7 separate regions of the Homo sapiens genome follow, and all the other regions are linked to region 1. Evidence: promoter capture Hi-C in 16 types of primary human blood cells and fetal thymus (Javierre and others, 2016). All regions are on one chromosome and are shown on one strand. Each heading gives the region's core, a stretch centred on a gene start or on the middle of the fragment in contact. The rest is flanking DNA. Distances are from core to core; before and after follow the strand shown. Region 1 holds the start of ZNF622 (zinc finger protein 622). Region 2 has its middle 69 kb from the start of LINC02111. Region 3 overlaps BASP1 (brain abundant membrane attached signal protein 1). Region 4 overlaps BASP1 (brain abundant membrane attached signal protein 1). Region 5 overlaps BASP1-AS1 (BASP1 antisense RNA 1). Region 6 overlaps BASP1-AS1 (BASP1 antisense RNA 1). Region 7 overlaps LOC124900947 (a long non-coding RNA gene).

Region 1 (3,838 bases), core at 420-2,919:
TGCTCTATGAACGGCTATGGTTTGAATGCATGTTTCCCTCCCAAAATTCAAATGTTGAAACTTAATCATCAATGAAATGGCATTAAGAGGTGGGGCCTTTAGTGGGTGATTAGGTTAGGCAAGCACTAATCCTGAATAAATGGATTAGTGCGAGGGAACTGGCTAGCCCCTTTTTTGCCTTCTGCTTCTTCCACCACATGATGACACCATGAGAAAACTTCATCTATAGAACAGGCCCTCACCAGACACTGACTCTGCCAGCACCTTGATTTTGGACTTCCCAATTTCCAGAACTATGGGAAAATACATTTATGTTGTTCATAAATCACCCAGTCTCTAGTACTTCCTTATAGCAGAGTGGACAGACTAAGACATGAACACCTACACCAGCACTGTTAATAGGATGTGGGATGAGGGAAGTAAGGAATAAATAGCTCATAAAGGCAAAGAGGTGAGGGTGCTGGCTCCAGCTCCAAATTTCTGGCTGAGTTGGTTTTGATCCCCTCATTCTGTTTTACTCAACTAAATTAAGTGCAAAACCATCATAACTGGAAACCCACTAGAATCGCAAATTACACGGCAGCTGGTATGACGATAGCATGTCCTCCTGTGCATATGTTAAAAGCCTCTTCATCCAAAACACAGAAGGCATCAATTCATTCTCCAAATATGCATTAAGCACTTCTTTTTCCAGACAAGGTTTTAGGCCTTGGAGAATGAATTGAGTGAACTAAACAGCCAAACCTGCTGGCCAGATAAGGCACTTCAGAAAGCGTCTAAACCACCTTCCCTCATCATTTTTACTTAAAAGCTCTCAAACACACACACACACCCATCTCGAGTATAAATCTGGAAACTTAAGGGTGGGCCAAGTTCCTCTTTACCCTCCCCGCCCAGACAGGGCCATCACCGTCTCCATCCAGGTCCTCTTCCTCCTCCTCGCTGTCCTCCTCCTGCTGCTTTGCCAACTTCTTCGCCTGCTGTTCAAACCACTGGAGCCGGGGTGGTTTCTCACTCGGGTCTCGGTCGTGGGTCCCACGGCCACCAGTACCCACGGCCACGACATTCCTGGCCTCCTTTGCAGGCGCTGGGGGCGCCTTCTTGGGAGACATGGACGGCTGGGCCTTGATGGCCTGCTGGATGGCCGCGTTCATGGCATCCTTGTCCACACTGTCCACGCCCAGTCCTTTCTCCAAGTTCTTTTCATTCATCATCTCCACTTTCCGATTCACTGCCTGCACGGCCTTCTTCTCCAGCTCAACGTGACGCCGGGACTTGAGGTGGTTCTCGTAGGCGTTGAAAGAGGCAAACTTCTTACTGCAAACGGTGCAGTAGGTGGCCGAGCCCTTGCTCTCCTCCTCCGCGACGGCCCGCTGCGCCCGCACTCGCTCCTGGAAGCCCTCGGCGGTCACTGGGGCCATGCTGGCCACCTTCCGCCGCAGGTTGTAGCGGTGCCAGTCCGTCTTATAGTGGGCCCGCTGCATGTCCGCGTCGCGGAACGCCACCCGGCAAGTTATGCAGGTGTACGTCGCCATTGCCAGGCGAGAAATAAGAACCGACCAAGCCAAACACCTGGTGATCAGCGCCGTGGCCCCACAAGACCCTCAGACCTTAACCCGCCTCAGCAGCCAGGAAGAGCCACTCGACACGCCGACTTCCTGATTGTCACTGAGGAAACTTCCGGCACACGTCGGAAGTTATTCACAACTGGACAGGAAACCCGCCTCTCAGGCTGTGGCCACGCCTCCGCCGCCGTGAGGCCCAGGAAGCCGAGGGAACGCTGTGGCTGAAAGGGACCTGGGTCCGCTCAGTCAGCCCGAGGTGGCTGTTGATTGAGGGAGGTCGCGCCCTCCCAGTTACCTTCCCTGGTGGTTGTGCCGCTCGGTGTGACGCGGTCAAGGGGACGGCTACGCGAGAATGGGGGAGTGGGGCGCCCGAGGCTGCTCCTGGGCCCTGGGAAGCCCCCGATTAATGAATGGTCGGGTCAGCGACGCGAGGGTCGGGGTTTCTCTGAGGACCGCGCGCTGCACCTGCGGAGCCGGGTGAATGGATGTCGCGAAGGCAAGGGCTGCCCTTACCCCTCGGGGCCGACCTCGGAGCCCTCGCCCGTGGTTGCAACGCTTTCCCGGGAAACCGGAGAAGCCAGGCCGGGGGCTCGGCCTTTCTGAGGCGGCCCTTCCGGCGGAGGACACCGGCGGAATTTGAGTGCACAGAGTGCGCGAGAGGAGCTCCCTGTAGACACACAGTCCAAGCCACGTAGGTAATTCTAATAGCAGCCACATTTTTAAAGAGTAAAGAGAAATCGGTGAAACTGCTTTTAATGTGTTTAATTTAGCCCATCCTGTCATTTCAGCATGTAATCAGTCTAAAAGAATTAATTAGATCTTTTACGCTCTGTCGTTGGTTCTAAGTCTTGGAAATCCAGTGTGTGTTTTAGAGTTAACAGCCCATCTCAATTTGGACTAGACCCGTGCCAGGTGCCCAGTTGGCTGTGTACCCTCATGTATATAGGACAGCAAAGTTCTGTAGAAAAGAACTTCAGGCCAGGCGCGGTGGCTCACGCCCGTAATCCCAGCACTTTGCGAGGCCGAGGCGGGCGGATCATCTGAGGTCAGGGGTTCAAGACCAGCCTGGCCAACATGGCGAAACCCAGTCTCTGCTAAAAAATACAAAAATTAGTCCCGGCGCAGTGGCGCAGACCTGTAATCCCAGCTACTTGGGAGGTTGAGGCAGGAGAATCGCTTGAACCCGGGAGGCGGAGGTTGTGGTGAGCCGAGATCGCGCCACTGCACTCCAGCCTGGGCAACAGAGCAAGATTCCATCTCAAAAGAAAAAGAAAACATGAACTTCAAATGCTTGGGGAGGTCGTAGATTTCATCCACACAGCCTGGTTGAACCAGAGTCAGCCTTGTTAGAGTCGAATGTTGCATGCTCAGAATCCAGGCTGCCAAGAGAAAACCAAAAGAAGATGGCGCTTTAAAAAACCTTCCAGTGCCTTCCCTTGACTCAATCAAATTCAAACACCTTACTTTCTATTCTCCGAGGCTCTACCCCTCCCTCTGAGGTCCTGCCACACCCCCTTCTCTACCCTGCTCACCCTACTTGAGTCGCAATGACACATTTGATGTTCTTCTAACAAGCACTTTAGTTGGTACTAAGTCAGAAAGTCAGAAATCCATTACTCTTCTGCTTGGAACATCCTTTTGCTGGCTTGCTTCCTTATTTTTTGGATCTCTGCCCAAATGCCTTTGTAAGAGAGGCTTATCCAAATCCACTTACCAAAAATAGTGCCTACCTTCCTAAGTCCTTACCAGGCATAACTTTTCTCCAGTACTGTATTAGTTATCTACTACTCTGTATTAAATTACCCCCAAATTTAGCATCAAGCTTTATTTCAGTTTCTGTATGTCAGGTATTTGAGTGACTCAGCTGGGTGGTTCTGACTAAGATCTCCTAAGAGGTTGCAGTGAACATGCTGTCCAGGGCTAAAATCATCTGAAGATCTGACTGTATTTGACTGTGGCTGGAGAGTCTCCCTTAAAGATGGTTCATTTACATAGCTGATAGCAAGAGGTTTTGGTTCCTTGACAAGTAGGCCTCTCCATAGGGCTGCTTGAGTGCAGCAGAGAGCCACATGAAATTCATAGACCTAGCATTGGAAGTCACACAGTCGTTTCCACAATGTGTTGTTACTTTTGCAGGTCAGCCCTATTTAATGTGAGAAGGGTTAACATAAGGGCATGAATACCAGGAAGTGGGAAGTGGGGGGCAGGGTGGTTTTAGGGGATCATTGGGAGATCAGCTACCACTAGCATTTGTTGTCACTGATTTCCCAGGC
Region 2 (3,838 bases), core at 791-3,290, 850 kb after region 1:
TGGCCTCCCAAAGTGCTGAAATTACAGGCATGAGTCACCACGCCTGGCCATGGGCACTTCTTTCCTCCCTTCTCCGTCTTGTTACTTTGTCTCTAAACCATAGTTCTCCATTTGTGTTCTTGGTAGCATGAGTATCACCTGGGAACTTGTAAGAAATGCATATGGTTAGGCTCATCCCAGACCTGTGGGATCAGGAACGCTGGGGCAGAGCCCAAGGATTTGTGTTTGCTCTCATCAATGTACATGACTGATGCATGCTCAAGTCTGAGAATCAATGCTCTAAATCAGGGGTCTGCAATCTACGGCTTATGGGCAAAGTCAGCTTCTTGACTGATATGGTACAGCTGGTGAGCAAGAAATGATTTTTATATTTTTAAACGTTAAAAAAGGGGGAATAGTATTTCATGAGAGATGAAAATTATATAAAATTTAAGTTTTAGTGTTTGTCCATAAATACAGTTTGATTGGAACATAGTTCCACCTATTCACTTATAGCTTTGCACTACAACAGCAAACTGGGGTCATTGCAACAGAGACCATATGGCCCAAAGGCCTAAAATACTTATTATCTGCCCCTTTACAGAAAGAGTTTGCTGACCCCGCTTGAAATCCTTTGTTCCTTCATCCTCCTCCTCTGTCTCCATGCCCACCCCCCCACACTCATTCCCATCTGAGGCCAGGACTCAGTCTGTGTCATTCGTTGTCACTGATAGTCTCCCATCTTCTTGGAACTCAGGGTCAAAGAGATTGTTGACCTTCACTTTAGCATCGTGTGCAGGGAAGCAAAGAAGCCTCGATTTTCATATGCAAACTGGATTTACTGGTGTCTGTCCAGAGGGAACATTACCCCGTGTAGCTTGCATTCACATTTTTGCTTCAGGGTTGAGGGCATGTATTTTCTTAGCATTTGATTATGGATCTGTTTTTAGAGGAACATGCTGTGGGGCAAAGGCCGGCCTGTTACTGTTTGTTCTGTCTAGAATGCTTTGGCATGCACACGGTAGATTATTGCAAATTGTTGAAATGAATATTTGTGGTTTAGGAACTCGTTAGTTGTCATTCTAGATGAGGTTATGTGTCTGTCAACTTCGGGTTCTCACTTCCTGAAAAAGATCCTCTCCTAATGTTTCATGAATTAAAGGCTCATACACACACTGCAAACTGAAGCAAGAAGTATGAACGCAATTGTACTGCCTGTGGCAAGACAAGATGCTTCTGCCCTGCAACCATCAGCTTCTTTCTGGGACAGTATGCTTATTTGCTTAATGCTAGCATAACCACCACTGAAACTGTGATCTGTGTTAAAATTAATCTTTTAAATCACTTAATAATGTGCTGCAGGAGCGGCCAATTGTACATGGACTACTTAAGTGAACTACTTTTAACATGAAGAGGAATATTTCATTTTGATTTTAATTTCACATTAATTTAGTTATGTGAGTGTCTGACAATGACACAATTTCACTTATTTTTCCCTGGGGAGATGTCAATGAATTCTCAATTTCCTTCCAAGGAGCCAGTCTTAGAATATTTGTGTGGTCTGTTTCATTGCTTTCCTTTTCCGTTCTAATAGGGCCAGCTGGGCTTTGACTCAGTGTAGCCGAGTGGGGGTGGAGGAGGGGGAACTGAATGTGTGTGTTTGTGTGTGTGCACGAACGTGTGTCTTATAAGGAGGGAAGGACTGGCTTGAGTTCCGGATTCAGCAATAAAGGGTGTAGAAGAAACAGCACTATGGAAATTTCAAATGGCAACAAATACAAGTGGAGGTCTACAGTTCAACAAAAATCACGGTTGATTATTAGTAAAAATTTTGTTTTAGACAAAATTTTCTCTCTACAGAGAGCAACTTTCTGAATGTGCACAGTGAGAGGCAGGAAACTGTTTTACTTCCTTGTTGCCTGGGACGAGAAGAAGAAGGCAGTGTCAGGTGAAGAGATGATGGGAAGGCGTGAGTAGTTTGGGAGGAGAAAAGATGGCAATACTGTGAAAAAGGCCTTTGTTGTGTTTATACCAATGACCTTTTATTCTTGCAAGTTTTTAATGAAAAAATTTAAAGATACAGAACGTTGAAAGAATAGTCCAATGAATACCTGTATATGCACCCGACTAGATTTAACAGATTCTTAACATTTTCTTACTTTTGCTTTATCCACCCATCAATGTATCCATCCGTCCATCCATCCCTTGTCCATCTGATATATCTCTCTCTCTCTTCATCCATCCCATTCCATCCATCCAAACTAGGGAGACTGAATAGTGCCCTAATTAAGAACCAGAAGAAGGCTGGGTGCGGTGGCTCATGCCTGTAATCCCAGCACTTTGGGAGGCCGAGGCGGGCGGATCACAAGGTCAGGAGGTCGAGACCATCCTGGCTAAATCATGAAACCCCGTCTCTACTAAAAATATAAAAAGTTAGTCGGGCGTGGTGGTGGGCGCCTGTAGTCCCAGCTACTCCGGAGGCTGAGGCAGGAGAATGGTGTGAACCCGGGAGGCGGAGCTTGCAGTGAACCGAGATCGCGCCACTGCACTCCAGCCTGGGCGACAGAGCGAGACTCCGTCTCAAAAAAAAAAAAAAAAAAAAGAAGAATGGTTTCTGCTCTTGATCTTCAGAGCAGAAGGATGTCTTTTTTTAGACCCACAAAAAGGGGGGTTCCATAAGGGAAGTGAAAGATGAAGGTGACTTTTGTGTTGTGATCTTTATAACAGATTCAATGGGAAGCTAAATGTCTGGCAACGATGATTACTGAGATGAAGGAAGGCAAGGACTTTCATTTGACTGAGTGACCATAACCATGAACCAACCTGAAAATTCGTTGGTATTAGAAAGTAGAAGAGTAAAGCAGATAGATAATTTTATCTTAAATTGTTGAATTTTATTACCAGGTAATACAGAAAATATTAGACTTCTTTTCTGGGGGGCAGGGTGGCGGGGGGGACAAAGTCTCACTGTGTTGTCCAGGCTGGAATGTCGTGCAGTGATCTCAGCTCCCTGCAGCCTCTGCCTCCTGGGTTCAAGCAATTCTTGTGCCTCAGCCTCCCGAGTAGCTGGGATTACAGGCATGCACCACCATGCTGGGCTAATTTAGTAGAGATGGGGTTTCACCATGTTGGCCAGGCTGGTCATGAACTCCTGACCTCAAGTGATCTGCCAACCTTGGCCTCCCAAAGTGCTGGGACTACAGGCATGAGTCACTGTGCCCGGCCAGAAAATAGTATCCTTTTTTATGTTTGTTTTCTCAGTTTGGTTTACTAATACTATCCAAACCTCAGGGTTTTTATGTATTCAGGTAAGAAAATGGAAAATGAAGACAGATTTCCAAGTACACTTCCCCCAGAGTGATTCCATAGTGACAATAGGAATACATGAATGGAAAATTCGCTTAAAAAAGAAGATGTTGGAATTATCCCTTTTATTTCAGTCTCTTAGATATCGCTTCCATGCACGTGCTGAAAACGCAGGTCTCAGGATCCTGCAAAGAACATGGCCTTGTTTCCTCCCGAGTGGCTGAAGACAATTGTAAGCCACAACACTCTCAGCCGTATCAAATCACAGGATATGGATTTTATGGATCTTTTAATTCTTACTTCAGTCTTCCTTACAAAATTTCTTAAATATGAATGGAGAGAAAGTCCGTGTTTCAAAGTAATGTGATTTTGTTTACCACTTAGAAACAATTAGTGACACGTCCTTCAATTCTTTCCTCTGCCTCTTTAAAAGTGCTATTGAGAAGCAAGGAAGCAGGACAGGACAGGCAAGACTGCACAGATAAAGAGGACGGAGCATGGCCAGGCATGGTGGCTCATGCCTGTAATCCTAGTAGTTTGGGAGGCCGAGGTG
Region 3 (3,838 bases), core at 757-3,256, 810 kb after region 1:
GATTGCTTATAGGATGAAAGTATATTTAATTGTATTTTTTGCCATGTATGTTTGTTTCTACTTTTGAGGGAGAAATAATCAAAAATTAAATCCAATAGAGCCTGTCTGAAGCAGGTTATGACCAATTGCCACCCCCTTTTCTAAAAAAAAAGGACATGTAAGAGAATCTTAGGTAACATCATAAAGACCTTTCTTGAGAATATGAATAGTATTTTAGTCAAATTTCAGTTTATTGCTTTTCTCTTCCCCCAACTACTGAAGTCATTCCAGATTAGAAATTAGCATATAGAATGGTGAGAAAAATTTTGACTGAAGAATTCATTTTCTTCCACCAAAAACTCGACTTTTAATAAGATAAATATAGGTTATTTCACTGTCATGAATCTTGATTCCAAGGAAGTAATAAACAGCAAATCCTTCTTTTCTAAATAAGGGATGTATATATTTGCAAAGCTGGCAAAGGAGTGTGTACAGTTCTGCCAGTGGACCTGACCTGGGCAAAACCAGGTGGTTCCCCCCTGCTCTTTCTAACCTCCCTTGGGGTCCAGGGCAAGGCTGATGCTCTCTCCTGGGCTTTTCTCATTTATGGGACTAACGAGGATAGTATAATGTGATTTCTGCCACGCTTCATCCAGGAAAAGCAACCATTTTCTTTGCAAAAGCAACATTTCAGTGGATTTTCACTGATGTGTGGTGACAGAAAAATGGACTTGAAGGAAAAAAAATGCACCAAGAGTCTGTTTAGCTCTGGCCATGGTTCTGGATGAAATTTATTATTTATAAATTTATAATTTATTATTTATCTGGTTTAATGCTTGGTTTTCAGAGGAGAGAATTTCAAGATTCAAATACAAATGGAGTTTCTTGTGCCAGAATGAAAGCGGCAGCCTTAAGACAGTTGTTAATGACCATTGAACGTGCATGTATAGTTTGAATTCTAACCAGGAAATTGATAATGAACAACAATTTTATGTTACTATAGAACTACTTTTTTTAAGCTGAAAATACCTTGAAATGAATTTATGTCAGACACAGCCAGCAAGAGACACTGGCTTTTTCATAACTGCCCCTGCTTGGTAAGAAGATAGACTGAATCCTGTTTACCTTACGTGTTTGAAGATGTGTTTGCTGATATAACACACACACATATGTAGCAGAGAGAGTTTGTAGTTTGAGATTATTTTCTAGAAATCTGTGATTTGTGCTTTATTACAGCTGTGCAGTTTCTCCAGAAAGCATTTTAAAATTGCAACGCCTTTCTCTAGCTCTAACCTGGGTCTAAGATGGCTGCCCCTGCCATGCTGCACATGCCTGTTCCACGCTTGGTGTTTGCATCAGACATGGGATTGCAGATGAAAAACAGATAGCGCTCCTCCTCTCCAGGGTTGACAAACTTTGCCTCTAATCACTGATTCTTTGATCTCAGCTTATTATTCCCTCAACTGGCTATGATTAGAAGCTCCACAACTGAGCTCCTTAATTTCTTTTCGTGACACATTGTTTTAAAAACTCATTTAAAATTATTGCAGAACTCACTTAATTGAGCTCCTTAATGTTTTTGATTCTTTTTAAAATTTTTAACTTTTAATTGTGTAATAACAGTGTAATATAATAATTTAACTGATTACTTGGGCGTGGTGGGTACACCTGTGGGCCCAGCTGTGTGGGAGGCTGAGGCGGGAGGATCCCCTGAGCCCAGGAGGTGGAGGCTGCAGTGAGAAGAGATCTCACCACGGCATTCCAGCCTGGGTAACATAGCGAGACCCTGTCTCAAAAATAAATACATGAATAAATTGAATTTAACTGTGCCTAACTATAGTTTACCATGCCACCCCTTTGGGGTGTGCAGTGCAGCAGGCCCAGAACCCCTTGCTTTGCAAAATGCAGCTTTTTGTGGTCCCCACACTTGCCTAGTAACCGCCGTTTTGTTTTGTTTTGTGTTTGCTTCCAGAACTCCAAGATGGGAGGCAAGCTCAGCAAGAAGAAGAAGGGCTACAATGTGAACGACGAGAAAGCCAAGGAGAAAGACAAGAAGGCCGAGGGCGCGGCGACGGAAGAGGAGGGGACCCCGAAGGAGAGTGAGCCCCAGGCGGCCGCAGAGCCCGCCGAGGCCAAGGAGGGCAAGGAGAAGCCCGACCAGGACGCCGAGGGCAAGGCCGAGGAGAAGGAGGGCGAGAAGGACGCGGCGGCTGCCAAGGAGGAGGCCCCGAAGGCGGAGCCCGAGAAGACGGAGGGCGCGGCAGAGGCCAAGGCTGAGCCCCCGAAGGCGCCCGAGCAGGAGCAGGCGGCCCCCGGCCCCGCTGCGGGCGGCGAGGCCCCCAAAGCTGCTGAGGCCGCCGCGGCCCCGGCCGAGAGCGCGGCCCCTGCCGCCGGGGAGGAGCCCAGCAAGGAGGAAGGGGAACCCAAAAAGACTGAGGCGCCCGCAGCTCCTGCCGCCCAGGAGACCAAAAGTGACGGGGCCCCAGCTTCAGACTCAAAACCCGGCAGCTCGGAGGCTGCCCCCTCTTCCAAGGAGACCCCCGCAGCCACGGAAGCGCCTAGTTCCACACCCAAGGCCCAGGGCCCCGCAGCCTCTGCAGAAGAGCCCAAGCCGGTGGAGGCCCCGGCAGCTAATTCCGACCAAACCGTAACCGTGAAAGAGTGACAAGGACAGCCTATAGGAAAAACAATACCACTTAAAACAATCTCCTCTCTCTCTCTCTCTCTCTCTCTCTATCTCTCTCTCTATCTCCTCTCTCTCTCTCCTCTCCTATCTCTCCTCTCTCTCTCTCCTATACTAACTTGTTTCAAATTGGAAGTAATGATATGTATTGCCCAAGGAAAAATACAGGATGTTGTCCCATCAAGGGAGGGAGGGGGTGGGAGAATCCAAATAGTATTTTTGTGGGGAAATATCTAATATACCTTCAGTCAACTTTACCAAGAAGTCCTGGATTTCCAAGATCCGCGTCTGAAAGTGCAGTACATCGTTTGTACCTGAAACTGCCGCCACATGCACTCCTCCACCGCTGAGAGTTGAATAGCTTTTCTTCTGCAATGGGAGTTGGGAGTGATGCGTTTGATTCTGCCCACAGGGCCTGTGCCAAGGCAATCAGATCTTTATGAGAGCAGTATTTTCTGTGTTTTCTTTTTAATTTACAGCCTTTCTTATTTTGATATTTTTTTAATGTTGTGGATGAATGCCAGCTTTCAGACAGAGCCCACTTAGCTTGTCCACATGGATCTCAATGCCAATCCTCCATTCTTCCTCTCCAGATATTTTTGGGAGTGACAAACATTCTCTCATCCTACTTAGCCTACCTAGATTTCTCATGACGAGTTAATGCATGTCCGTGGTTGGGTGCACCTGTAGTTCTGTTTATTGGTCAGTGGAAATGAAAAAAAAAAAAAAAAAAAGTCTGCGTTCATTGCAGTTCCAGTTTCTCTTCCATTCTGTGTCACAGACACCAACACACCACTCATTGGAAAATGGAAAAAAAAAACAAAAAAAAAACAAAAAAATGTACAATGGATGCATTGAAATTATATGTAATTGTATAAATGGTGCAACAGTAATAAAGTTAAACAATTAAAAAGAAGTAATAAAGACTATTGGGTTTTTTGTTCTGTTTGTTTTACTTTTCTAGTCCCCTTCAATAACTACTTTATCAGAGAACAGAGCACTGTATTGGCCATTTTTCTGAATATATTTGGATAGAAGTAAAAAAATAGACCAGGGACGGTGGATCACGCCTGTAATCCCAGCACTTTTGGAGGCCGAGGCAGGTGGATGGCTTGAGCCCAAGAGTTGAGGACCAGCCTGAGTAAGATAGTGAGACCCCACCTCTATTTAAAAAAA
Region 4 (3,838 bases), core at 741-3,240, 760 kb after region 1:
CTACAAAAACCGGAGAGAAGAAAACGATTACCTTGTCGGGATCCTAACCCTTTCTGTTTTCTCTGGACTCCGAACTCATTGTTTCATTAAGGATTCCAAAAGGCGAATGGCGTCCAGATGGAAATCTGATGGGGGCAGAAAGAAGGCAGTCGTTGGGGTGAAGCTGGTTGATTAGGTTCGCAATGATTCCTTTTTCCCCATTACCTAACAGAAGCCATGATATACCTTTGATGGCTGATTTTCTTTCAGATGATCTATTTTCCAGGTTATGGCCATTTAGATTTATTTTCAGGTAGTTTGTTTTTACCACACAAAAAGGGACTTATTGTGTATATTAAATAGGAGCCAAATATGATATTTTTTGCAGTGGTAGGTTATGTTTAATAGGGTTTTATGCTTAAGTACTGTCAGTACATCCTGGTGGAATAACGCGTGGCAGCAATGGAAATCATCTCTTTTGTCCTTTTTGATGAGAACTTGATATTGACCACGTTTAATATATCAGGGCCCATCTACTGGCTACGGTGGCTGTCTAGCTGTCTTCTAGGTGGCATGGATTGTACCCTCTGTACTCCTTAGTATTGAGTAGGTTATTATGATTTAGAGAGCTACGTTCTTTCTTTTTTCTTTTCCTTTAGGTTGTGTTTTTGGCGAGGGGTATGTTGGAATATAGAACAAATTCAATAGCAAATATATACCAGCATGTCCCCAATTCAGTAAATCTTAGGTTTTTGAGTGAGATAATATTTAAATCGATTTTTAAAAATTATTACAGAATTAAAATATTTCTATCAGTTCGCTTATTCTTTTAGCCAGCTAGCTTTTTGCCAAGCTTTAGCAGATAGAGAAATTGAGCCTTTTGATAAAAAGCACCAACAATGACAGTGGCATTTCTGTTCTTTAACTGGTACTCAGTCTGCCATTGTGACGTGTAGAAGAGAACCTTATCTCCCCACATCACCCTAGTTTAAAGGTCCAATGGGAGAGCCCTAAACATTTAGGCTGTCTATCCTTGGAGGCCTCTTCATAATCCTGGATTTACTAGGATCCATAATCCTCCTGGATCTTATGGTGCAAGAGGTGATGCGTTCTGTCTCTTTATTTTTTAATTTCACAATTAAGAACAGTTTGAAGCCATTTTCATTTCATGGTCAAGCGGAGTATGACATCAGAGAGAAACTTTCATTTGGAGGAGATTTGATCACTCTAAAATGGATGTCTGTGTTATTTACGGTAGTTTTGTAAAAATTGCAAAATCCACACCCATTTTTAAAAACAAGGTGTCATGTATATACACATGTACACATACACATACTTGTTTATACACACTCTAAAATCTTATGAATAACTTGAAATCAAACTGGTTGGTATAGAATATTATTTTATAGTGCTTTGATACTGGTCTTTGGAACATAATCAATTTCTGTCTTTCTAAATATGTGTTTGAAAGGGAAAGCCTAGCAAGTCTATTAATAAGCTCACTTCCCATTTATCCCAGTGTACCTGGAGCATTAAGCTAAGACGTTCATCCACAGGCTTAAAAACTTACATCAAGCACTACTGAACTTTACAAGCTGGAATAAACAATGCCTACTAAATAAAAGATTTATAAAATTGTTCTGTCTTATTTTTGTGATCTCTTGTAAATGTTTTTTTTTTTTTTTTTTTTAAATATCCAAAGAAGACCTGTGAACTATTATTTGTCAGAAGCAATTGCCCTTGGTATCTGATTCTGTTGAAAGAAATGCGTTGATTTGTCCAGACCTTTATCTTAATGTAGTTTGTACCTACTTATTTCACATCTTCTTTCTCTTCTTAATGATGGTCTTAGCTGGTACCCTGGAAACCAGGTAACTGCTGGGGAAAAACACTGAGTAGATATATAGACAACTTGAATATTCTCTGAAAATGGGCATGGAATCTTTATTGTTATATCAAATTTTCTCTAATTATATCTAATCCTTTAAATTTATTGTATCTCTTAAGACATTAGATAAGCCAGTGAACATGAGCTTTTTTCTTTGGCTTAATTATAGTGGACAACTATTAGGAAGGAACTGTGAGGTTGCAAATAGAATATTTTGAAAGATAAAGTACTCTTTATGTGTTTTGGGGTAATGTTTTTGGAGTGGTTTCTCAGGAAATCGTATAAAGACTGGATTTGAAGAATCTAATAATTCCTATTTTGGGGTTGTAATAAGAACTACATATGATATCTAAAAATGACTTAAGTGTGGAATGGCTGGCTCTGAAGGGCTCCTCAACCTCTCAGTCTCAATTAGTGATATCAATTACACTGAAAGTGTTTTCAACAACTGAAAGTGTCAATCAACACTTTCAGTGTAATTGACATCACTAACTAATTTCAGTATATTCAGCTGTATTTTTGTTCCAGCTTGATTAATGAAGCCCGGGGGACCCCAGGAGTATTAAGTTAGAAGTAGGATGTCTCAATCCTAAAGGGGACCAAATATCATGGTTCCTATTTTCTGTCCTTGTGTTTGTAGATATTTGAAATTCTGTATTATATGGGAATTAGCCTGAAAGTGGATTTCATGATATCAAGATGGCCACCTTCCTTGAATTCCCCAGGTCTGCTTATACTTATACTTATGTAACTTAAGAAGTGGCATTTAAGTTCTCTTGAGAAAATACAAGGGTAGTCTTGAAACCACAGCAGTGCCCAGCCTGCCAAAGGAAGGCTTTTGTGAAACGCCTTTCCAGCCACAGCCTTTGAGGCAGACGTCTAGGTAAGTGTCACATGAGAACAGATGTCTGGTAAATGCTCTCAAGAGTAAAAATCAACCATACAGAGTCCATTTCTCACCAGAATATAGTTCAATTGTAATTTTGAGGAGCCACAAGCCTAAGAAGGAAGCAGTGTGATTAAAACAGCATTCTCCTTTTCCCTCTAGAAGTCAGAAATGGGATGAAATGGGAGGCAGAGAGAATGAAATAGTGTGTTTTTCTTCTGCACCCTAAGGATTTAAATAACATAAAAAATTATTTCTTAATGTTTTACAGACTTTCCATACTCAGTACATTTTTGAACAAAAATAGGGAAAGCTGAGATTTTTTGACTCAACAAGGCCGTCAGTGCTGAGAGGTGGTGATTGAGCAGGCTTGGAAGTCTAGGAATACATTCCTGAAAGCTTTAGAGATTTAGAAATAGAAACCATCTGCAAGCACCACAGGGGCCCAGGGCATAAGGAAACACTTCAGGATAATATAGGAAAATGGTGTGCAGTGGAGAAAGCAAAGCATTTACACAATATTTTCCCCTTATCACTTAAGCATTTTATAAACTCTTTTTTTTTTTGGTTCGTTTTGAAGGAGGCAGGACTGGACTTCATTGGTTTGTGTTTTGAACTTCTGTTTGAAGTAGATATTTCAGCAATTTGTACATTGTGTAGGGAGTATAATATTTAGAAAGCATGATTTGGAGGGTTAGGCATGGTGGGGATGGACTTTGGAGCCACAGCACCAGGTTCGAATCTTCTCTCAGCCATTTACTGGTTGTATGATCTTTGGTAAATTGCTTACCTTCTCTGTGCCTCAATTTTATTTAGAAAATGGGAATTGTGATACATGGTTACTGTAAGTATTAAACAAAATTGTCATGCACTTAGGACAATGCCTCCTTATATTCAGTGCATCTTTTTAAAGGAGTGTGAATATCAGTTTTCTTTACTGCATCCTTCATCTATAGCTACTCATATGTTTGTTTCAAAGAGACCATTATTGCAAGACAGGCCAATGGTGGTGCCTTGCTCAGTAGGTAGAATATAGAAGTCTGCGGTTTAGAAAACTCCTCCAGGTGTGGTTAAGAATACGCTAA
Region 5 (3,838 bases), core at 479-2,978, 720 kb after region 1:
ATCTCCAAGGATCACCCAAGCTCTGGCCAGGCTGGTAATCTGTCTCCTTTGCATGCCCTTGCTCCCTGCTGCTCTGTGGGGCTTTCCCATGGACTCCTGACTCCTCTTTTACTCTCATGGCAACCCTTTCCATTGGGCTGTCTGGGATTCCTGTTCTTCAGTGGATACTTCCTTCTGTGTCCTCAGTCTCAGAGAATGCGCACCCTAGCTGAAGTTCTGCTCTCTCCAGAGTATCCCGGCTTCCCCCTTTTCACATTTCATCTACTGGGTTGGGGACCCATTTACGCCAATACTCCATGATCACTTGCAATCTATGACTCTTCCTCCTTTTGGAAAATACCCCTGCTCTGTAGAGTCCTTGATATTTAAGATGTGTGTGTGTGTATGTGTGTGTGTGCACGTGTGCGTGCACGTGTGCTCGTGTGTGTGCGCATATATAGCGTTAAGTGCTCCGGCTTCAATATCCAATGATGTGGGTTCTAATTTCGGTTTTGTACTCACTAGTCTGTGAGACTTTGGTCAAGTTACTTTTTTGAAGGCTTGTTAACTCTTCTATAAAATGTGGACGGCAGTACTTCTATAGCATGGGGTTGTTGTGAGGATTACATGAGAAGATCCATATGAAGTGTCTAGCACATTTCTGGTGTAACTCAGTCGACGTTAACTATGATCACATTTGGGCTGCTCACTTGCCTTTTCAAATCCCCCACCATTTGAAAAATGTCAGTGTTCTTTGGCACCACACAACCTGCTCCTGACAGTTCCCAGCTTCCTTAACTCTGGGGCATGCATTTCTACCACAGGCCTGCCCCACTTTCTGGCAACAACCTCCTAATCTATCTGCTCCTTCTCCCTGCCTGGGTCACCTCCTTCCTGTCTACCATGTCCTTGTCTCCCCGTAGCACTAGCCTAGGACCCTCCAACCTCAGCCAGATAGTCTACTTTCACTGAGACCTACACAGTTTGTGGTGTGTACCTGACTCATCTTGTGTGACTGTCATGTTTATTCTGTGGTTATATTTTTCATAATTCTTCCATTATAAGGATCCATATGGGGCTGAACCACTTCCTATACCCCACCCGCATTCCCACAAGCTGGATCGCATGTGAAGAATCTGATAATCTCTCTCTCATCTGGAGATTTGGTCTTAGTTCAGTAATGCCCCTGATCCAGGGAGTTAGTTGTCTAGGACACAGACTTGGCAGGGAGGTGAGGTGGCACTTTTCAGTGGCCATGACTCTGTAGCTGGGAAGCAAGGAAGCCACAGGGTGGTCTTGATCATGTGAACCAAGCCCGTGAGCTTGGAGGAGGGGTGGCACAGGGCCTGTGAGCGGTGGACACGCTCAGCCATGTTTCTGTGCTTCTGAGTTTTAGGCTTGTTAAATTTTCTTGATGTTCTTTGATTTCCCTTTCTCCTTTCTTTAGTAGCTTTGGAAATTCCAGTCTGTTTCACTTCTGCTGAAACACAGCAAGGATAAGGGAATTTTCCCTGGTGTGGCTCCATCTTTAAGATGACACTTAACTTTGGGAGGCAGAATGCCAGGGGCAGAGGGAGTCCGACCGAGGGCTCTCTATGGTGATCCCCCACCTGTGGCACACAGAGGATGCCCAAGTCAGCGAGCTGAGACCTTCCTGTCCCAGGGACGTGTAGAGCCAGGGAATTTGGGGGAGAAGATTTGGCTTGGCTTGTGCCTTATCTTTCCCATCATTCTGAGAGGTGAAGTGGCTCTTTCTCAGAATGGAATGGAGAGGAAGGAAGATTCTTGTGGTTACTGGAGAATTAGAACATGACAAGGTACTCGCTCCATTTTGTTTGAGATTTTATGAATTCTCAAAATATCAGAGGCATTTCTATCAAAAAAAAGAGAAAGGTCCCCAAAAGGCAACTCTTGAGTGACCACCATTTTGGAGGATTTATTCATTCTTGTCTTGTAGGTGGGTAATAAAGAATAAAATATAATTGTATAATACTTTAAAAAGACTATACAGGCAGTTGGGAGTCCGTCCACCAGGCTCTGCTCACTCGCTGAAAGGCAACGTGATTTACTATAAGATGCTTAACTTTGCTGTATATTTCCTGAGGTTTAAAATAAGATCTGTACTTATCTTTTCCTTTAAACTGACATGAATAAGGGAACATTTATGTCAAATAATTTGAGCAACTCAAAGGAGCAAAGTGCTTTAAAAATGCCAACTGGACTGTGAAGTTTTTAGGTATTTGAGGAGATCTACAAAATGGACTGGAAAAAATGGGCATGTCTCCAGAAATCACCAACAGCTGTGCGTTTAAAGATAACTAAAAATAATATTTCATATTGAGAAATTGGAATATCGGGGTTGAGTAGACCGGAAAATAGGGAAGAAAAGGAGAAGACACAGAAAAAAAAAGCCTTAAAACTTCGTGCTTCAGCAGTTGAACCTCTCTTGATTATCATTCCCAGAATTCCATTCTACTTTTTCCATTTTTTTTTTTTTTTTGAGATGGAGTTTTGCTCTGTTGTGCAGGCTGGAGTGCAGTGGCACGATCTTGGCTCACTGCCACCTCCGTCTCCTGGGTTCAAGTGATTCTCCTGTCTCAGGCTCTGAGTAGCTGGGATTACAGGCGCCCGCCACCACACCCAGCTAATTTCTGTATTTTTAGTAGAGACGGGGTTTTGCCATGTTGCCCAGGCTGGTCTCGAACTCCTGACCTCAGGTGATCCACCCACCTTGGCCTTCCAAAGTGCTGGGATTACAGGCGTGAACCTCCGTGCCCGGCCTACTTTTTCCAGATTTGGTCATGAGTTTCCTAGGGCTGCCATAATGAAGGACTACAAACTGGGTGACCTAAAACAAGAGATCTATTTTCTCCAATTCTGGAGAACAGGAGTCTGAAATCAAGGTGTGGGCAGGCCTGGTTTCTTCCGGAGCTCCTTCCATCTCTCCCAGCTGCTAACAGTCCTTGGTGTTCCTTGGCTAGTGGACGCATCACCCCCCTCTCTCCCTCTGTCGTCCCACCGCGTTCTGTCTCTGCATCTCAGTGTTCAAATCTCCTCTCCTTATAAAGACAGCAGTCACATTGGATGAGCGCCACCTAGTGGCCGAAGTTTAACTTGAGGACAACTGCAAAGACCCTCCTTCCAATAATGTCACATTGGCATGTAAAGAGGGGTTAGGACTTCAACATATTTTTTCGGAGAAGACATACAATTCAACCCAAAACACTGACCAAAACTTCACTTTCCCTGGGCGACCCCAGCATGGCAAGTTCTCTGCGTGAATAAGGCAGTGGTTGTTTAACAGGCGTGCCAGGAGGCTCAGGGAGCAGGAGCTACAGGGACCTGCATTGTATTCTAAGCGACATGAGGGCGCCTTGCTGTAGTTTCTTTCCTGGGTCTTATCATGCCTCTCCTAGCTCTCAGTTGCTCTTCAGCTTGCAATCCAAGACATGTATTTGTAGTTTAATGAACAAATCATATACTTAAAAAAATGGGTTAGTTTAATCTTAAAAAATCAAAGGCTTTAAAAAAGGGATCACAATGTATGTTTCTAGCCTCTTGCATTCACCTTTACCTTTCCTCCTCCATCTGCTACAGTCACAAGGAGAGCATCCACTTGACCTGTAGTCAGGGAGCACTGCTAAAGGTTGTATCTTCACTCAGCTGCAGTCAGCTTGTGACCGCAGATGCGTTATGAAATTAAATGTCCTCCTATTTTAAAGCTTCTACGAGTCATTAAAATTTTTTTGTTTATGGATATCATCAGGAGTGGTAGGGTGGGAGGAGGATAAGGGAAAGAGAAGAGGATGTTTTCAGCTGAGCAGAGGAAGCAAAGTTTGACATTTACAAGACCCGCATG
Region 6 (3,838 bases), core at 703-3,202, 700 kb after region 1:
ATGCCACACTTTTAAATTTATATTTGTATATATATATAATTTTACAATATGCAAAATATATTAGCAAAGTAATGCATGTTTATAATTTTTAAATAATCCCATTTTAGAGGTGTGTGCTCAAATGTTTTTACTAAGAGAGGCATATGGATATCAGCTAAACTTTTGTTTAAGAAGATAATTAGGCAACTGAGCTAAAACAGAGAACCTGGAGGTTGGTGGACAAAGTAGGAGATGATTGTAATTCCTCAAGCAAGACATGCTGAAGGCCTAGACTAATGAGTGTCAGAGGAGGAAAGATGGATTTCAAAGACTTCTCCGAGGCGGGGTTGGGGAGGTGTTGGTAAATAGATGTGAGCATGAAGGAGAGGGAGAAATTCAGTTTAAATGTCAGGTTTGCTACGTGGAAAGCAGGGTTGGTGGTGGTAGCATTCATGGGGAACTTGACTGACTATAGAAGGCAGAGCTGATTTATGAACTGGGGAGAAACCATGATGTCATGATTTACATGATTTCATGTAAATGATGTGGAATAGTTTAGGTGATGGGATGCATATTGGAATTACCTTTTGGATTTATGCTAGATTATTCTAGCCAGTTGGAGCAGGTAAAAGATGCCTAGGCTCGTTTCCTATCTGTCATATAATCACCTCACACTCCTGGAAATGGGCTTTAAAAGGGACATTTCTTAATCCTTCTGAAAAATTGTAGTTCAGACTTTGGCCAATTAAACCTCAGGGGTGCTCTCAACTGGAAAACCACTTGGCACAGGGCAGTCAAGAACTGCTGTTAGTGGTCAGTGCCTGTTCTATCTTAACTCCTTCCCTGCTGAGAGGTCAGCTGGACTCCAGCAAAGGCCTGGATATGCATGAAAAAGGATGAGGGGTGAGGATGGAGAGGTGCATCTGTTCATCTGAGCATTCCCCTGTTTAGCTCTATAGCCAGGTCTGAGGCTATCATGGGCAAAAAAGGAAACCCAGAAGGGCCTTGAGCTTATTTTAAAGTCAAAGTGAAAGACTATAGAGTCTTAATTATGAGTTGATATCATTTCAGAAACTTTTCTCTTGTAGCCTTTTTGAGCAGTGGTCTCTCATGTTACAGGGGAGGCCTGTACCCCTAAAAGTATGCAAGAAAATTGGATACAGATGTATTCTTTAATCTGAAAAAAAATAAAGAAGACACTAAGCTTTACTGATACTTACACATGACTGAGAGCAAGCAGTTCACGTGTAGAGTTGATAAATAAGTGTCATACTGGGGATGCCTGGTCAGAAATCTTTTACTGATAGGGCCACATGACCCAGAAAGTTTGGGCTTTAATGGTGTATCAGAGAGATGAGAAGCAGGCAGGCTAGATAGAAGCAGATAGGTTTTTGCAAGTGAGAGGAGAGGGGGCAGTCGGGACAGTGAGATAAAGAGGAAGAGGCAGAGGGGATGGTATTTAGGAGGTAAATTCTACAGGATTTGGTGACTGATGATTGATGAATTTTGAGTGAATCTTTGATAAGACACCCCGCCATGAAAAACAATTTTGTCTCCTTAGTGCTTCTAGAGACCTGCCATCATTTCTGTGATGGCAAAATTATCTACCTAGTTATTTGTCAGTCTTCTTCCTCTCTCCAAATGCCTTTGGAGTTGTATCTCCAGTAATTTAGTGGATACTAAATACATGTTGCTATGTGAATATTACATGAAATGTTTTAACAGCTCAAAATATGGAAGATAAACTTTTTTTTTTTTTTCCTGAGATAGGGTCTTGATCTGTCGCCCAGGCTGTAGTGCAGTGGCGCAATCTCAGCTCACAGCTCACTGCAATTTCCACCTCCCGGGGTCAAGCGATTCTCCTGCCTCAGCCTCCTGAGTAGCTGGGACTATAGGCATGTGCCACCATGCCTGGCTAATTTTTATATTTTTAGTAGAGATGGAGTTTCCCCATGTTGGCCAGGCTGCTCTCAAACTCCTGACCTCAGGTGATCCACCCACCTCGGTCCCAAAGTGCTGGGATTATAGGTGTGAGCCTGCACCTGGCCTAAGAAACATTTTTGAATTAGAGAGCGTTCTTGGCTAGACTCTGTGGCTCACGCCTGTAATCCCAGCACTTTGGGAGGCCAAAGAGGCAGGATTGCTTGAGCCCAGGAGTTCAAGACCAGCCTGGGCAACATGGCAAGACCCTGTCCATAGAAAAAATTTTAAAAATTAGCTGAGTGTGGTGGTGCGTGTCTATGGTCCCAGCTACTGGAAGCTGAGGCAGAAGGGTCACTTGAGCCTGGGAAGTTGAGGCTGCAGTGAACCATGTTTGTGCCACTGTACTCCAGCCTGGGTGACAGAGCAAGACTCTGTCTAAAAAAAAAAAAGAGAGAGAGAGAGTGTTTCATATAATTGTAGGTTTTTATTTCAATAAAATAATCATGCATTATGATATGACGTGGACTCAGGGATCTTAACACCAGCCTTAGGATTCTGCATTACAATTTGGAAATTACTAGGGATTTGTCAATGACTACTGTTTGAAATTTACATGGTGATAAAGGACATTATTTTACTACCTGCAAGTATAAGAGTCAACATTAACCATGAAAGTTATTTTCTCCTTACGAAAATATAAAAGTCAAAATTAGCCATAAAAGTTATTTCCAAAGCATTTCCTTTTGAACATGCAAGGAATGCTGACTATTCAACAAACAGTAGTTGCATAAAGAAGATTTTTGGTCCCATGATCTGGCTGAAGCTTTGCACAAACAGCTGCTTATCTCATGAATGGAATTTCCTGTTAATATTCTTGCAGGCTAATTGTTCATCAAAAGTACAACAAATGTCAACAAACATCAGAAACGTGTTACATCTTAATATTTACAAGACAGCAGAAATAGTTCAGATGTTTAACTTGGTTGAGCTTAAAAGGCAAGAGTGCAATCTTTAGCCCTTGTCACAAACTAGTCTTGACGGGATTAATGCTATTCACATAAACCATTTGTTTTAAATGCCCTCTTTCCTGTTAATTTACAACAACATATGGCTTAAGATAGCACAGGATAAGGGAAGAAACAAAACTGTAACTTCAAACAGTATAGTTGAAAGCACCTTTGTTTTGAATGGATTTCATAGACTTTTCATCCCAACTACATATGGAAATAAATTTTCTTAGAATAAAAATGCTTCAAATGGACTCTTAGGCTGGGCGTGGTGGCTCACGCCTGTAATCTCAGCCCTTTGGGAGGCCGAGGCAGGAGGATCTCTTAAGGTCAGGAGATCAAGACCATCCTGGCCAACATAGTGAAACCCCGTCTCTACTGAAAATACAGAAATTAGCTGGGCATGGTGGTGAATGCCTGTAATCCCAGCTACTCAGGAGGCTGAGGCAGGAGAATCGCTTGAACCCAGGAGGTGGGGGTTGCAGAGAGCTGAGATCACACCACTGCACTCCAGCTTGGGTGACAGAGCAAGACTCCGTATCAAAAAAAAAAAAAGGACTCTTAAATCCCGTGGCAGCAACCACAAAGATATCCACTTGTTTCAGTGAGAGGTGGGTTTCGTAGGGTAGAGGTCCCAGAAGTAGGAAGTAATATCATCAGACCACCAGGGTTCGGATCAGAGGTGAAATTTAGAATCAGTAGAGACTTCCTGAAACACAGACAACAGATTTTTTTTTATAAGGCATTTCCAGGTTTTTGTCTTTTTTTCTCTCAGTGAAAGTAGCATTTTTCACTGAGGTGTCAATTCAGGAGCTGTTTCAGGAAGGTGCTCAGGGAAGATATTTTAGTACAACACTCCGGCCTCCTTCATAATACTAATCACGCCCTATTTTCCTTTCCTTAGCCCTAACAAACTCAGAGTGCTGAAA
Region 7 (3,838 bases), core at 439-2,938, 640 kb after region 1:
GCCAGGCTGGTCTCAAACTCCTGATCTCAGGTGATCCCCCCGCCTTGGCCTCCCAAAGTGCTGGGATTACAGGTGTGAGCCACCGCACCCGGCCTCTTTCTCCTTTTTTATCTCTTTTCTAGAGTGGGGACAATTCCAGAAGAGTAAGACAGTCTTGCCAATAGAAAAGAGTGGAAGAGCTGGGGGCGGTGGTGCATGCCTGTAATCCCAGCACTTTGGAGGCCGAGGCGGGTGGATCACCTGAGGTCAGGAGTTTGAGACCAGCCTGACCAACATGGAGAAACCCTGTCTCTACTAAAAATACAAAATTAGCTGGGTGTGGTGGCACACACCTGTAATCCCAGCTACTCCGGAGCCTGAGGCAGGAGAATTGCTTGAACCCCGGAGGCAGAGGTTTCAGTGAGCTGAGATCACTCCATTGTACTCCAGCCTGGGCAACAAGAGCAAAACTCTGTTTAAAAAAAAAAAAAAGAAAAGAAGAGTGGAAGAAACAGGGAGCCAAGGACCAGTGTGGGTTAGACTTGATATTTTCTAGCATGTTTATTATGCATTAAAGCCATAAAATCAAAGTGAATTCCATTATTTTCATTTCTTCCAGATTTCTTTGTTCTCTTTGTTATCCTTCTTGCTGATGAGTTTATTATTATTATTTGAAAATGGTCTCAGGGCAAGCTTCTCTTTCTCAGCGTTCTTCCCTTTTACAATGGAACCCTGTCAGCATTTTCATCCTGCTTCCTCCTTATCTTTCTCATAGAAATGTAAATTCCATAATAGCACTGACCTTCTGCTTTGTCAATACTTTTAAGAAAGAACAGAAAAGCAAGCCACAACTCGATACAGACATCCAACCTCTTGGCTTTTTAGCAGCAGGATTTGTTGGTTTGTGTAGAGATCATGCATCTTGCTGGAAGCACGTTTTACCCCTTAGTTTCAGGGGACCACCACAATGCTGCAGCAGAATCCAAAGAAGGGTTGCTACCTATGTGGGTCAAGATGACGGAAAGTGCAAAATCATATATCTGTTGTTACAGTGGGGGCACTTTGCGGGGGGCGGTGGGGGTGTGGGTGGGAGAAGTGATCTGAAACCTTATGAGGTGAGGTTGTGTGCTGCTAAGGAGCATTTTTTTTTCTTTTTCTTTTCTTCTTCTTCTTCTTTTTTTTTTTTTTTTTTAGGGTCTTGCTCTGTCACCCAGGCTGGAATGCAATGGCTGATCTTGGCTCACTGCCACCTTGACCTCTCTGGCTCAAGTGATTCTCCCACCTCAGCCTCTCGAGTAGCTAAGACCACAGGTGCGTGTCACCATGCCCAGCTAATTTTGTTAATTTTTTGTAGAGACAGGAGCTCTCTGTTTCCCAGGCTGGTCTTGAACTGCTGACTTCAAGTGATCCTCCCACCCCTCCCTCCCAAAGTGTTGGAATTACAGGTGCAAGTCACTGCATGCCCAACCAAAAGCATTTTCTTTCTCTCTTTCTTTCTCCTTCCTTCCTTCCTTCTTTCCCCCTCGCCTCTTTTTTTTTTTTCCTAAGTTTTGCTCTGTTTCCCAGGCTGGAGTGCAGTGGCGTGATCTCAGCTTGCTGAAACCTCCACCTCCCAGGTTCAAGCGTTTCTCTTGCCTCAGCCTCCTGAGTAGCTGGGACTACAGGCGCGTGCCACCACGCCCAGGTAATTTTTTGTATTTTTAGTAGAACGGGGTTTCACCGTGTTAGCCAGGATGGTCTCGATCTCCTGGCCTCAGGTGATCCACCTGCCTCGGCCTCCCAAAATGTTGGGATTACAGGCGTGAGCCATTGCGTCCAGCCCACATTTTTTTTCTTAATCCCGGCCCTGGAAAACATTTTGATCTATAGAGGCATTTGTAAGGCTAGATGTCTTTGTACAATTTGTTAAGTAGTGTTCTGCAGACGATTGTAAAAATGGGTCAGGGAGTAGAAGGTGATATAAAGTATCCCAGAATATTGGTGAGGAAAGAAATCTGGAGTCATGTGTGGGAAGCACAGAAGGAAATTTTTAAGTATACAAGAAAGTTAAGAATGATAACTAGACTGCCTGTTCTGCCTGTGGAGTAGCCATTCTTTTATTCCTTCATTTTCTTAATAAACTTGCTTTCGCTTAAAAAAAATGATAACTAGACTGATAAAGAAGACATTAGCAATGAATGAATTGGATGAGTAAATCTTCAGTCAGAATGAGAGACCTGCTTGCTGTTGAATCTCTTGGAGGTCAGTCCTTTCACATTCAATAAATATGTATTGAGACCCGTGTCTTCAGGGCTCTAGGTGCTGGTGATTCAGTGGTGAATAAAGCCAAGGACATTTTTTTTTTTTTTTTTTGAGACAGAGTCTTGCTCTGTCGCCCAGGCTAGAGTGCAGTGGTGCGATTTCATCTCACTGCAACCTCTGCTTCCCGGGTTCAAGCAATTCTCGTGCCTCAGCCTCCCGAGTAGTTGGGATTACAGGTGCCCCCTCAGAACCCCTGGCTAATTTTTGTATCTTTAGTAGAGACGGGATTTCACCATGTTAGCCAGGCTGGTATTGAACTCCTGACCTCAGGTGATCTGCCCACCTCTTCTTCCTAAAGTGCTGGGATTACAGGCGTGAGCCCTGCCAGCCAAGGCCATCGTGTTACCTACTTTACATTGTAATGCAGGAGCCATCTAATAAATCAATAAACAAAAATATAATGTAAGGTGGTAGGATGACAGGAGAAGCTTGCCTGAGAAGGTGACATTTGAAATGACAACAGAAGGAAGTGAGCTGTGCAGATATGTAGGGCAAAGAGCATTCCAGGCAGAGGGAACAGCAAGTGCAAAGGCCTCAAGGCAGGAACATATTTGGGGCTATTCAAGGGCTAGCAAGAAAGGCAGGGGGAGAGTGGAGGAAGATGACATGGGAGCAAGGGGACATTGCAGAGTCCTTGTAAACCATCTGAGGATGTTATTTTCCATCCTAAGATGAAGGCAGTGAGTGGTTTGGAGTACAGTGGGGGCGTGATCTGGGTTAGAAGGATCACTTTGCTGTATGTGGAGCCAGGCCATGGTGAGAGAACGGCTGTATAGCTATAAAAACTCTCTTCCAGATTTGCAAAATGTCGATGAGAATAACTGCTTTAAAATATCTTTATAGAATACTCTATCCAGTTAAAAGAAACAAAAGTTTGGCATGATCTTCAAATAACCCAAGGGGGAGAAAAATATTAGGCAAATATAAACAGCATTGCATTCAAGAGGTGAAGTTGAGACATGCTTTCAATCTAGCCTCTGCAACAGCCAAGTCATCACAGCGCAATCAAATCCAGCTGGGACCACGGAAGATGACTCCATATCCTGTGGATACTCTGCTTGGCACAATGTGGGTGGGAGCCAATGAGGGCTGGATGGATGGAGGCCCTGAGACTGCTGCCAACCCTTGTTCAGAGCTAGTGGAAACTTCTGACTCTGAAGTCTTCTTTGCAGCTGGAAATGGGGAAAGGACTTAGGGAAGGTGCTGAAGCTGGCTTGGATAAGGCAATGTCCCACTGGAGCTATTTCTGAGCATTTTATTATTACTCAAATCCGTCTTCCCTCCCCCTTTTTTTTAATTGGTAAGTTTTTATGCTGGTAATAATAGGTGATGCTTATTCATTAATTTACAATGTGCCAGGTACTATGTTAAACTTATCATATTCATTATCTTACTAATTTAAGCCTTCACAACAGCCCAATGTGGGAGGTGATATTATTATTGCCCACAATGTTTAGAAGTGGGAACACAAGTTTAGAGACTTGCATAATTCCAGTTAGTTAGTAGCACAACTGAGATTCATCAGAATCCAGCTCATCAGAATCCAGTCTGTGCATTT

What was found. The method cuts DNA at HindIII sites, captures the fragments that hold promoters and counts their contacts. A CHiCAGO score of 5 or more calls a contact.
Region 2: a contact is called between a fragment that was not itself captured here and the fragment with the promoter of ZNF622 in region 1, in 1 of 17 cell types (total B cells). The highest score is 6.0, in total B cells.
Region 3: a fragment that was not itself captured here is called in contact with the fragment with the promoter of ZNF622 in region 1 in 2 of 17 cell types (naive B cells and total B cells); the score reaches 5.3 in naive B cells.
Region 4: a contact is called between a fragment that was not itself captured here and the fragment with the promoter of ZNF622 in region 1, in 1 of 17 cell types (total B cells). The highest score is 7.6, in total B cells.
Region 5: a contact is called between a fragment that was not itself captured here and the fragment with the promoter of ZNF622 in region 1, in 2 of 17 cell types (megakaryocytes and M0 macrophages). The highest score is 9.4, in megakaryocytes.
Region 6: a fragment that was not itself captured here is called in contact with the fragment with the promoter of ZNF622 in region 1 in 2 of 17 cell types (M0 macrophages and megakaryocytes); the score reaches 6.8 in M0 macrophages.
Region 7: a contact is called between a fragment that was not itself captured here and the fragment with the promoter of ZNF622 in region 1, in 2 of 17 cell types (M2 macrophages and M0 macrophages). The highest score is 7.0, in M2 macrophages.

Annotation. Positions count from the first base shown.
Region 1 is chr5:16,464,131-16,467,968 of GRCh38, forward strand. ZNF622 (zinc finger protein 622) reads right to left here and starts at 1,670. Exons shown (of 6, transcript NM_033414.3): 1 at 911-1,670. The coding sequence starts at 1,535. RefSeq lists enhancers at 978-1,047, 3,330-3,389, 3,420-3,509 and a silencer at 2,855-3,077. The HindIII fragment of the contact is 4,211 bases long and covers 1-3,385 here.
Region 2 is chr5:17,316,096-17,319,933 of GRCh38, forward strand. No RefSeq gene overlaps it. Among named protein-coding and RNA genes, the nearest start is that of LINC02111, 69 kb to the right of the region's middle. The HindIII fragment of the contact is 5,802 bases long and covers 1-3,838 here.
Region 3 is chr5:17,273,257-17,277,094 of GRCh38, forward strand. BASP1 (brain abundant membrane attached signal protein 1) reads left to right here. Exons shown (of 2, transcript NM_006317.5): 2 at 1,952-3,578. The coding sequence starts at 1,961. The coding sequence ends at 2,644. Among named protein-coding and RNA genes, the nearest start is that of BASP1, 58 kb to the left of the region's middle. RefSeq lists an enhancer at 2,378-2,878. The HindIII fragment of the contact is 6,227 bases long and covers 1-3,838 here.
Region 4 is chr5:17,219,717-17,223,554 of GRCh38, forward strand. All of the region lies in intron 1 of BASP1 (brain abundant membrane attached signal protein 1), which reads left to right. Among named protein-coding and RNA genes, the nearest start is that of BASP1, 4.0 kb to the left of the region's middle. The HindIII fragment of the contact is 2,320 bases long and covers 831-3,150 here.
Region 5 is chr5:17,186,526-17,190,363 of GRCh38, forward strand. The region is part of intron 1 of BASP1-AS1 (BASP1 antisense RNA 1); the gene reads right to left. Among named protein-coding and RNA genes, the nearest start is that of BASP1-AS1, 29 kb to the right of the region's middle. RefSeq lists a silencer at 3,755-3,838. The HindIII fragment of the contact is 3,942 bases long and covers 1-3,699 here.
Region 6 is chr5:17,166,884-17,170,721 of GRCh38, forward strand. The region is part of intron 1 of BASP1-AS1 (BASP1 antisense RNA 1); the gene reads right to left. The region is part of intron 2 of LOC105374664 (a long non-coding RNA gene); the gene reads left to right. Among named protein-coding and RNA genes, the nearest start is that of MIR10522, 13 kb to the left of the region's middle. The HindIII fragment of the contact is 1,542 bases long and covers 1,182-2,723 here.
Region 7 is chr5:17,102,926-17,106,763 of GRCh38, forward strand. LOC124900947 (a long non-coding RNA gene) reads right to left here. Exons shown (of 2, transcript XR_007058707.1): 2 at 3,103-3,838. Among named protein-coding and RNA genes, the nearest start is that of MIR10522, 51 kb to the right of the region's middle. The HindIII fragment of the contact is 2,036 bases long and covers 671-2,706 here.